Linked DNA regions of Homo sapiens: region 2 is linked to region 1. The links are contacts of gene promoters, found by promoter capture Hi-C in human tissues and cell types (Jung and others, 2019). All regions are on one chromosome and are shown on one strand. The core of a region is centred on a gene start or on the middle of the fragment in contact, and the rest is flanking DNA. Distances in the headings are between cores, read along the strand shown. Region 1 holds the start of OLFML2A (olfactomedin like 2A). Region 2 overlaps MVB12B (multivesicular body subunit 12B).

Evidence for each region. The method cuts DNA at HindIII sites, captures the fragments that hold promoters and counts their contacts. A contact is called where the count stands out against the background at its distance.
Region 2: a fragment that was not itself captured here is called in contact with the fragment with the promoter of OLFML2A in region 1 in 1 of the 25 tissues and cell types used here (dorsolateral prefrontal cortex).

Annotation. Positions count from the first base shown.
Region 1 is chr9:124,773,564-124,778,412 of GRCh38, reverse strand. It overlaps OLFML2A (olfactomedin like 2A), which reads right to left and starts at 1,280. Exons shown (of 8, transcript NM_182487.4): 1 at 1,053-1,280. The coding sequence starts at 1,142. It overlaps LOC107987126 (a long non-coding RNA gene), which reads right to left. Exons shown (of 2, transcript XR_001746926.3): 2 at 4,576-4,849. RefSeq lists silencers at 907-1,206, 1,277-1,376. The HindIII fragment of the contact is 24,652 bases long and covers 1-4,849 here.
Region 2 is chr9:126,476,714-126,481,398 of GRCh38, reverse strand. MVB12B (multivesicular body subunit 12B) reads right to left here. Exons shown (of 10, transcript NM_033446.3): 8 at 1-30. Among named protein-coding and RNA genes, the nearest start is that of NRON, 69 kb to the right of the region's middle. RefSeq lists an enhancer at 4,474-4,685. The HindIII fragment of the contact is 8,937 bases long and covers 1-4,685 here.

The DNA.
Region 1 (4,849 bases), core at 31-2,530:
AACACCCCAAGTGCTCTGGTGCTAAGTATTTTTTTTTTTTCTTTTTTTTTTTGACACGGAGTCTCGCTCTGTCGCCCAGGCTGGAGTGCAGTGGCGCGATCTCGGCTCACTGCAAGCTCCGCCTCCCGGGTTCACGCCATTCTCCTACCTCAGCTTCCGGAGTAGCTGGGACTACAGGCGCCCACCACCATGCCTGGCTACTTTTTTTTGTATTTTTAGTAGAGACGGGGTTTCACCGTGTTAGCCAGGATGGTCTCGATCTCCTGACCTTGTGATCCGCCCGTCTCGGCCTCCCAAAGTGCTGGGATTACAGGCGTGAGCCACCGCGCCCGGCCTAGTGCTAAGTACTTTACAGGCATGACCACACCGCATCTAGAGACCATCAACTGCAGGAAGTGGGTCCCATGATTCTCCCTGTATCTACAGGTGAATAGACGGAGGCTCAGATGGGCGATGGCGGATGAGAAGCGGATGTGCGACTGAACCCAGGTCGGCTTGACACCAGAGCAGATCCTCTTAGCCACAGCAGAGAACAGCTCAGACCACTTCTGGAGCTACCTAGTCCTCCAGGGGGTGCACCCGGTCCCTGGCAAGAACATCAGAGGCCAGGCGAGTGGCCAGCGCGGCTGCGTTCATCGGGTAGAGAAGACCCCCAGTCCCCAGCGGGCCGTGAAAGCCGTGGCCCAGGGCTTGCTGCAAGCCTGGGAGTCGTTGGGTAACAGTTGCCAGGAGCTTCCCCTACGAACCCCGAGTCTGGCCAGCACTCCGGGGAAATCCCCCGACCCCTCCGGGAATCGGACCCGGTCCCAGCGCCCCTTCCTCAGGCCCCGGGTCCCTAGCATCCCTACATCTCCAGCGCTTGTTCCTCCACGCGCCCCTCTCTCGGGGCCCCTGCCCCTGCGGCTTCAGTGCTGAGAAGTCCCAGGTTCGGTCTCTCAGCTCCCGGCTCCTCCGCCCTGGCCCCGGGCTCCCTCCCGGGCCGCACCCCAGCCACAGCGCCCCCTCGCGCCCCGCTACCCGCCGAGCCGCGCGGGTCCGAGGGGCGTGCGTACCTTACTGTCGGCGCGCGTGGGGCGGCCGCTCAGCAGCAGCACTAGCGGCAGAAGGAGCAGCGGCCGGGGCGGGAGGGCGGCAGCGGCCATGGCGCCACGGGCACGGTAGGCACAGGCGGCCGGGCACGGACGCTGGGAAGCGCGGGCTGCACTGCGAGCTCCGCGCCTTCGCCCGCTCTGCCTGCCCCGCGCCCCGCGCCTGCACCCTGCTGCCAGCCCCGCGGGTCTTCCAGCGCCGCCAGGGGCGGAGCTAGGGCGGAGGGGGCACCCCGCCCCGCCCCGCCCGCCGTTCGCGGGGCCTCCCCGTCGTCGGGCGGCTCTCCCAAGGGCATCCCTGCCCGCGCGCCAGGGTGGGTCTCGATCGCAGCCGGCAGGAGCAACGGGGCCAGGGCGAGGCGCGTGGGCTCCTCTCACGGACTCAGGTCCTGTCCTGTGAGTCGTGGGACCTTGGGCGTGTCCCTTCACCTGTGTGCCTCAGTTTCCTCATCTGTAAGATGGGGGACTCGTGCTTTCCTTTTGGAGTGTTTGTAAAGTTCGCATGAGAGACGGATGTTCCCAGGGCACGTGAGCCCTTGCGCTCTCCGATTTCACCCACTTCTGGACAGGGACCTGACTGCTGTAAGCCTTCCCAAGGCTCAGCAACCCCAACCTGTCTTCCGTCTTTCATTTCTCCTTCCCTCTGGAATCCCTCCTGTCGGCTCCCAAACTCCAGTAGCTTCCGGCTTTTAAATTTTTATTTTTCTCACTCTGTTGCCCAGGCCGTAGTGCAGTGGTGCGATCCCAGCTCACTACAGCCTTGACCTTCCCAGCTCAAGTGATCCTCCCACCTCAGCCTCCTGAGTAGCTGAAACTACAGGTGTGCACCACTACACCTGGCTAATTTAAAGTTTTTTTTTTTTTTGCAGAGACGGGGTCTCACTCTGTTGCCTAGACTGGTCTTGAACTTCTGGGCTCAAGCAATCCTCCCACCTTGGCCTCCGAAAGTGTTGAGATTACAGGCATGAGCCACTGCACCCAGCATTTCCTTTTTTTTTTTTGACTGGGTCTTCCTTTGTCACCCAGGCTGGAGTGCTGTGTTGCGAATACAGCTCACTGTATCGTCAACTTTCCAGCTCAAGCTATCCTCCTCCCTCAGCCTTCTGAATAACTTGGACTACAGGCATGTGCCACCATGCTGGCTAATTTCTGTATTTATTTTAGGGATGGGGTCTTCTGTGTTGCCCAGGCTCTCAAACTCCCGGGCTCAAGCAATCCAGCCACCCTAGTCTCTCAAAGTGTTGGGATTACAAGTGTGAGCCACCATGCTTGGTCTCATTTTCTTCATAGAATTTATTGCTCAATGGGACTGTCTTTCTTGTTGGTGTGTTTGTTTCCTTGTGTTGGAGCATGACTTCCTAGGGCACATTCTTAGTTTCTCCCCATGAACATTGAACTCAGTGGTTCTCAAAGTGTGGTCCTTGGTCTCAGCCTCCGCATCATCGGATAACTTGTTAAAAATGCAAACTCTCCCAGCCTGGGCAACATGGTGAAAACTCGCCTCTACTAAAAATACAAAAATTAGGCTGATGTGGTGGTGCATGCCTATAATCCCAGCTACTCGGGAGGCTGGGGCAGGAGAATCGCTTGTGAACCCGGGAGGCAGAGGTTGCAGTGAGCCGAGATGGCACCACTGCACTCCAGCCTGGGCAAGAGTGACACTCTGTCTCAAAAACAAACAAACAAACCCAAAAAACAAAACTTAGCTGGGCGTGGTGGCACATGCCTGTAGTCCCAGCTACTTGGGAGGCTGAGGCACAAAAATCACTTGAACCCAGGAGGCAGAGGCTGTAGTGAGCCAAGATCGTGACACTGTACTCCAGCCTGGGTGACAGAGCGAGACCTTCTCAAAGAAAAAAAAAAGAAAAAGAAATGCAAATTCTTAGGCCCCACTACAGACTCACAAAATCAGAAACTCTGGGCATGGAGTCCAGCAATCTGTGTTTTAACACACCCTCCAGGGCTCCAGGGGGCTTAGGGTTTGAGAACCACTGACCTGGCACAAGGTACGGTGCTCTACAACTCTCAGCTGAATTAAAGAACCCTGTGCAAAGCACACACTGAGTACAAATAAGCTGCTGCTGCTTCTTTTTTTTTTTTTTTTTCTTGAGACAGAGTCTTGCACTGTCGCCCGGGCTGGAGTGCAGTGGCGCAATCTCGGCTCACTGCAATGTCCGCCTCCCGGCTTCAAGCAATTCTCCTGCCTCAGCCTCCCAAGTAGCTGGGATTACAGGTGCCTGCCGCCACGCCCAGCTAATTTTTTGTATTTTTAGTAGAGACAGGGTTTCACTATGTTGGCCAAGCTGGTCTCAAACTCCTGACCTCGTGACCCGCCCACCTCGGCCTCCCAAAGTGCTGGGATTACAGGCATGAGCCACTGTGCCCATCCACAAATAAGCTTCTTCTATAACTAGAGATCCCCTGGGAGGCATCAAAACCGGGGCTAGATTAGTGTAAAAAGTAAATATCGTGTATGTTCTTATGGACATAGACTATCTGAAAAACAATGCAAAAAGTCAGCACGGTGGTTCTAAGGAGATCCAGGGAGTAAGAACTTTCATTGCATCCTGTGGGTTTTGTAATGTGTGTGTCCTATGTATTCAAAAACGGGACAGAGCGTACTTAAAAGAAATCGAAGCCGGCAGGGGGGATTCCCTCCCCAAGCCCTTTCTTGATGAACTGCGGCCTTGCTCTGACTCTAGGCAGGACAAGGAAGAGCAAGGCTGCCGTCACTAGAGGAACTCTGCCCCCTGCTGGCTGTTCCCCCACATGACCTGATAATCTCTGGCTGCCTCCTCTTTACCCTTCTCTCTCTCAGTGGGCTCTGGTCACCACAGATTCTCCCAGCTCCTCAAATGGGCCAAGCCGTGATCTGGCTGGCCTTGGGACCTTGGCACATGCTGTTCCTTCCACCTGAAAGCCTTCCTCTCCACCTAGTCTCACTTCTAGTCATCCCTCCCGATTGAGATCAGTCAATCTGACCCGCCTCGGCCTCCCAAAGTGCTAGGATTACAGGTGTGAGCCACCATGTCCGGCCATGCCTGCCTTGTTCTTAGCTGTATCCCAGTCTGGTCCCGTCTGTCTGCTGCCTCTGGCCTCAGAACCACAGCCCCCTAAGATCCCTCCTTACCCTTAGACACATTCCTTTCCAGATCTTTTGAGTCCTGCAGGTGGTAGCAGAGTCTTTTTCATCTTTCTGAACCTGTCCCCACATTTCTAAACTGGGGGAGAAAGTATTGATTTCTTAGGATTGTTGGAAGAAATGTAGAGAGATTAGATAAAAGGCCCCATAGTAGGTGCTGGACTCATAGTGAGTGCTTAGTTCATTGGGCTGTCAATGCTTAGGACAGTGGCTGGGGTCTCTAGCACAGTCATTTCCCTTGTTTTTCTCAGTCTTGTGGTATTTGACTCCTCCCAGAAGCACTTTCAGAAGACATGCATCTGAGATTTAGAACCACTCTTTAAATAACATTAGTAAGAGGTTCCATTTATTAGGCCAGACCTTTAATTGCTTTGCAAGCATCGTTTAATTCTCATAGCATTCCTGCTAGGTAGCAACTATCATTATTACCCATCCCCTTAGAAGACAGGAAATAGAGGCTCAGAAGTCACTCACCTAAGGTTAGCTGTTTTTATCCATTCTTTCACCCAGTCAGCAATTATTGAGAGCCTACTATGTGCCAGATCTGTACTCAGCAGTTGGGGTTATGAGTGAGAATAAAGGGATGTGACTAGTCAGGGAGGTGTGGGAAGGTTTATGG
Region 2 (4,685 bases), core at 363-2,862, 1.7 Mb before region 1:
CTGAAATCATAAAAGGCACACCATCCATTGCTGCAAAAGAAGAAAAAAAAAGATGGCATTAAAGGTATTGAAGATGGCATTTAGTTGTCCAGCAACTGAAGATGTCGAAACAGAGAATATGAATCCGTCACTGGATGGAGCCAGGTGACATCCAGCACAGATGTGCTGGAGCTATGAAAGAGGACAGGTCCCACCCCTGCTGCCAGGACACACAACCTACTGAGAGAGGCAGGCGCCTCGTCATCCCCTGAGCACCAGGCAGTTGTGTAGACAAGAGCTCTAGGAGCAGAGAGCGGCTGGTCCAGAACCCCTACTCTCCACCCCTGGAGTCTGGTCTCTGATCTGTAACGGGAGAGTCACCAGGGGCTGGCAGCAGGATGAAGGTGACACAGCTGGCAGGGACAGGCTGCAATGAGATGAAGGCAGTAAGCACGTGCATTAGACATGCTCTAAGGTGCTGTTGGACTCAGGGGAAAAGACTAAGTGGGAGGAAAGAGGAGCTCAGGAGTCAGATTGGCTGGGTTCAAATCCCAGCTGGTGACTGCAGATGAGCAACTGAAGTTGAAAGACGAAAAACTGAAGTCACATTTAAAAAGATGGCGCCACCTACATGACAGGGTGCCTGTGCATCAGAAGTGGAGTGTGTGGGGCACCTGGCCAGCGCTGGCACAGAGCAGGTGCTTGGCATGTGGGGGCAACAGTGGCTGTCGCTCTCAGTCACTCAGACCCAGGGCATCAAGGGCTGACTAGAGGCTCACCAGTGTGCTCAATTTTAACAGGACACGAGAAAAAGGGCATGGAACGGGGACGCAACGATGGAGAAACCAGGGGCCTGGTTCCTTTTCTGTGGCCACCCCTCCCTCCGCCCTGTCCCAGGGGATCGCTTTCAAAAGCACACGGACAGAAACGACCCAGGGTGTGCCTCCGTAAGTGAGCACTTCTCTATGAATTATAACCTCAGAGAGGAGGACTCTGGTGCCACACCAGGACTGGAAATCCTGCCACATTGAGGAACAGGTCACACTGGACGAGACGTGATGCCGGCATTCACAGAGCCAACGTGGCAGCCATGCGGCTGCTGGGACAGTGGTAGGGGCCTTTCCAGTGTTGGCTTCTCCCTTAGGTCTGGGAAGAGTCGGGAACATGCAGCCGCAGTTGTTAGGGGCCTGGTCATGAGTGCAGGGACGCGGAGCCCCGAAGTCAGGGGTGGCCGCACCCTGAGGTGGTGGCTATGCAGTAAATTGTGGTTTCAGGGAGAAACGGAGTGAGCACAATGGAAGCAAGGTAGAGCATGGGGGCAGCGTCGGGCAGTGCGCTCCTGGGACCAACAATCTTTGCTTCCCCCAGTGTCTCCTGGAATGATGACTTCTCTGGAACCTTCAGTGGTCATATTTTTTCTTTCTCAGTCCTAACACAGAAGAGTAGCAGAAGCAGAAAGCAGCAAAGCAAGAGGAAAGGACATAAGAGAAGAAAAAACCTGGAACGGATCCTCCCAATCAGCAAGAAAAGCCGAATGGCTCATGCTACGTTCATACAGGGATAAAACATCATAGAACTCTGCTCACACTTTATTTTAGGGAAGGAAAGAAACGAAACCTTCTTGGATCAGCATGAAGAAAAAGACACAGCACAGGTGGCGGCAGTCGCTGCATTCCCCGCGCCCTCCTCTCTTGGAAGGGCCGCTGCCCAGTGTGGCTGCTGGACTTAGACAGAGACTCCTGGTCAGAGGCCTTCTCCCATTTCAGGTGGTGCTGGCAACCTGCTGTGAGCTGACGGAAGAGATGGGACAAAAGTCCCGAACAGGCAACACTTCCCCAGAAAGTGGGGTGAGGGGAAGGCCCCAAACAATCTCACTCAGTACGTCCCGCATTTGGGCCTCAATCTCGTTCAGTACATCCCGCGTGCAGACCTGTGTGTGAACTCTAAGTACCTATGCGTGTATGCTGCTTCACAGATGAAAAAGTTCAGCAATGAATAAAGGAGTCTGGAAGAGCCACAAAGCCTTCTAGAGAAGGGCAGAGTCAAGTCCCACCGGATATCCAGGAAGAGGTGTGCCAGCTCCCACCACCATCTGCCTGACCTGACTTCCATGCCCTTCCTAGTGCTGCTGAGATGGGCCGGGCACTCGTAACACTTCCGATCATTTTAGAGATTGGGAAGCAGAGGCTCTGAGAAGTCGGTGCTTGCTGGGGTCACAAAGGTAGGCAGCAGTGGCCCCAAAGCTCTGGATAGTACAGGCTACTTGACCTCCCCAGTAAAGTCCCGAAGCCCACTCTTCACCTGTCATGGTCCTCACTTCCCACTCTCTGCCCACATCCATCTCTTCCACAGCTTCTCTTGCCTGCTAGACAGACAGCAGGGTCCACAGCAGAGTCCTCTCTGCACGCCCAGGTACTGTGCACAGGCCCTGGCAATTGCTCCCCTGCAGAACCCACTCACCATTCATTCCCCAGACTTTCTGCCTCTGATGTTTTAAAGACCTTATTAGTATTTGGGAGTGAAGAACTGCCTCTCACTGGTGACAGTTGTTTCTATCTACATGTCACTGTATGTCTAGGGATCCTGTGTGTTACGAAGGTGGTAAGGTGATGTGCAAAGACCTGATTACATCAGGAACTGAGGGGGCTGAGAAGTACTGGGGGTGGCAGAGAGGAAGGGGGCTCCTCCCATGGGAGGCCTCCCTAGTCAGAGGCTGTCAGTACTGCCTGTGCCTCCAATGGACAGAGAAGGGCAGGATTTCCAAGATGGGGGTCTCGACTGGCATTGAAGGCCCTGGCCCCTTGCACCTGACCCTCTTCCCGGCTTACCCATCCCTTCCCTCCCTCTATGCTTGTACCTCAACTGTCCTTCCCAGTCTTCTGAGTGCCTCTCCTGCAGCATGCCTTCCCCGAGGTCCTCCCTGGGGTCTGGCCAGGCCCGTGTCTCCTCTCCTCTTATTGTAGGTGCATGTGCGAGTCACCTCTGCATTCCAGGTCCCCAGCCCAGGGGCAGGGCCTGGGGGCTCAGGGGCTGTGCTGGACAGGGAGGGCTGCTGTTCCCATGCACGGGGATCTGGGGAACTGGGTAGAGGGCTCCAGCCTGGGGCAAGTGCCTAACTCTCTCAGGACCTGGGGACCCTGCTCACTGCTACCCCCGCCTGCTGCTGCTGGAGATGAAAGCCATGGATGGAAGAAGCCTGGGAATCACTTCTAGGAACTAGGAAGATCTAAGCAGGGAGGGAAATGTTTTAAAAAATTCATATAAAATTAACCATTTTAAAGTGAACAATTCAGTGGCATTTAGAACATTCACAATGGTGTGCGATCATCACCTCCATCTAGTTCCAAAATATTTCCATCGCTCCAAAGCCAAACCCCTCACCCATGAAGCAGTTTCTCCCTGCTCCCACAAGGAGCGTGTGTTTCTTTCTCCTTCCAACTGATGATCACGTCTTTGAAAGAGAAGGATCTAGAAACATAGGTGGTCCCGTAAGCCTGGCTTTCTGACTACAGTAGCCAGGCCTCCTGTCACGCTGCGCTCTTGCCTTGCTAGTCAGCAGAGGAGATGAGGAAGAATGGGTTGCCCAGGCTGGCTGCTCTGAGTTTAGGGCTTTAAATAAAAATCAAGGATAAAAAAGTAACTTGTTGATATAGTTTAGCTATGTCCCCGCCCAAATATCATCTTGAATTGTAGCTCCTATAATCCCCACGAGTTGTGGGAGGGAGCCAGTGGGAGGTAATTGAATCATGGGGGCGGGTTTTTGCCATGCTATTCTCATGAGAGTGAATAAGTCTCATGAGATCTGATGGTTTTATAAAGGGGAGTTTCCCCTGCACATGCTCTCTTGCCTGCTGCCATGTAAGGCATGCCTTTGCTCCTCCTTTGCCTTCTGCCATGATTGTGAGGTGTCCCCAGCCATGTGGAACTGTGAGTCCATTAAACCTCTCTTTCTTTATAAATTATGAAGTCTTAGGTATTTCTTCATAGCAGTATGAAAATGGACTATACACTTGTAAAACTTAGATATCAACAATAGCATTTTTTGTACATATATTGACATAGTTTAGATATATGTCCCTGACAAGTCTCATGTTAAAATGTAATCCCCAATGTTGGAGATCGAGACCTGGTGGGAGGTGTTTGGGTCATGGAGGTGGATCCCTCATGGCTTGGTGCTGTTCTCACGGTAGTGAGTGATTCTCACAAGATCTGGTTAAGTGCATGGCACCTCCCCTGGCCCTCTCTCTCACTCCTGCTCTGGCCATGTGATACGCCTGTTCCCCCTTCACCTTCCACCATGACTGGAAGCTTCCTGGGGCTTCCCGAGAAGCAGATGCCAGTGCCATGATTCCTGCACAGCCTGTAGAACCGTGGGCCAAGAGCCAATTCAATCTCTGTTCTTTATCAATGACCCAGTCTCAGGTATTCCTTTATAGCAACATAAGAACAGCCTAACACACAAATATATATATATCACATATATTATGTAAAAATATACCTTTACATAGATTATAGATTTACATTTTTTTTTTTTTTTTTTTTTGAGATGGAGTCTCGCTCTGTCTCCCAGGCTGGAGTGCAGTGGCGCAATCTTGGCTCACTGCAAGCTCCTCCTCCTGGGTTCACGTCATTCTCCTGCCTCAGCCTCCCGAGTAGCTGGGACTACAGGCACCCGCCACCATGCCCGGCTAATTTTTTTGTATTTT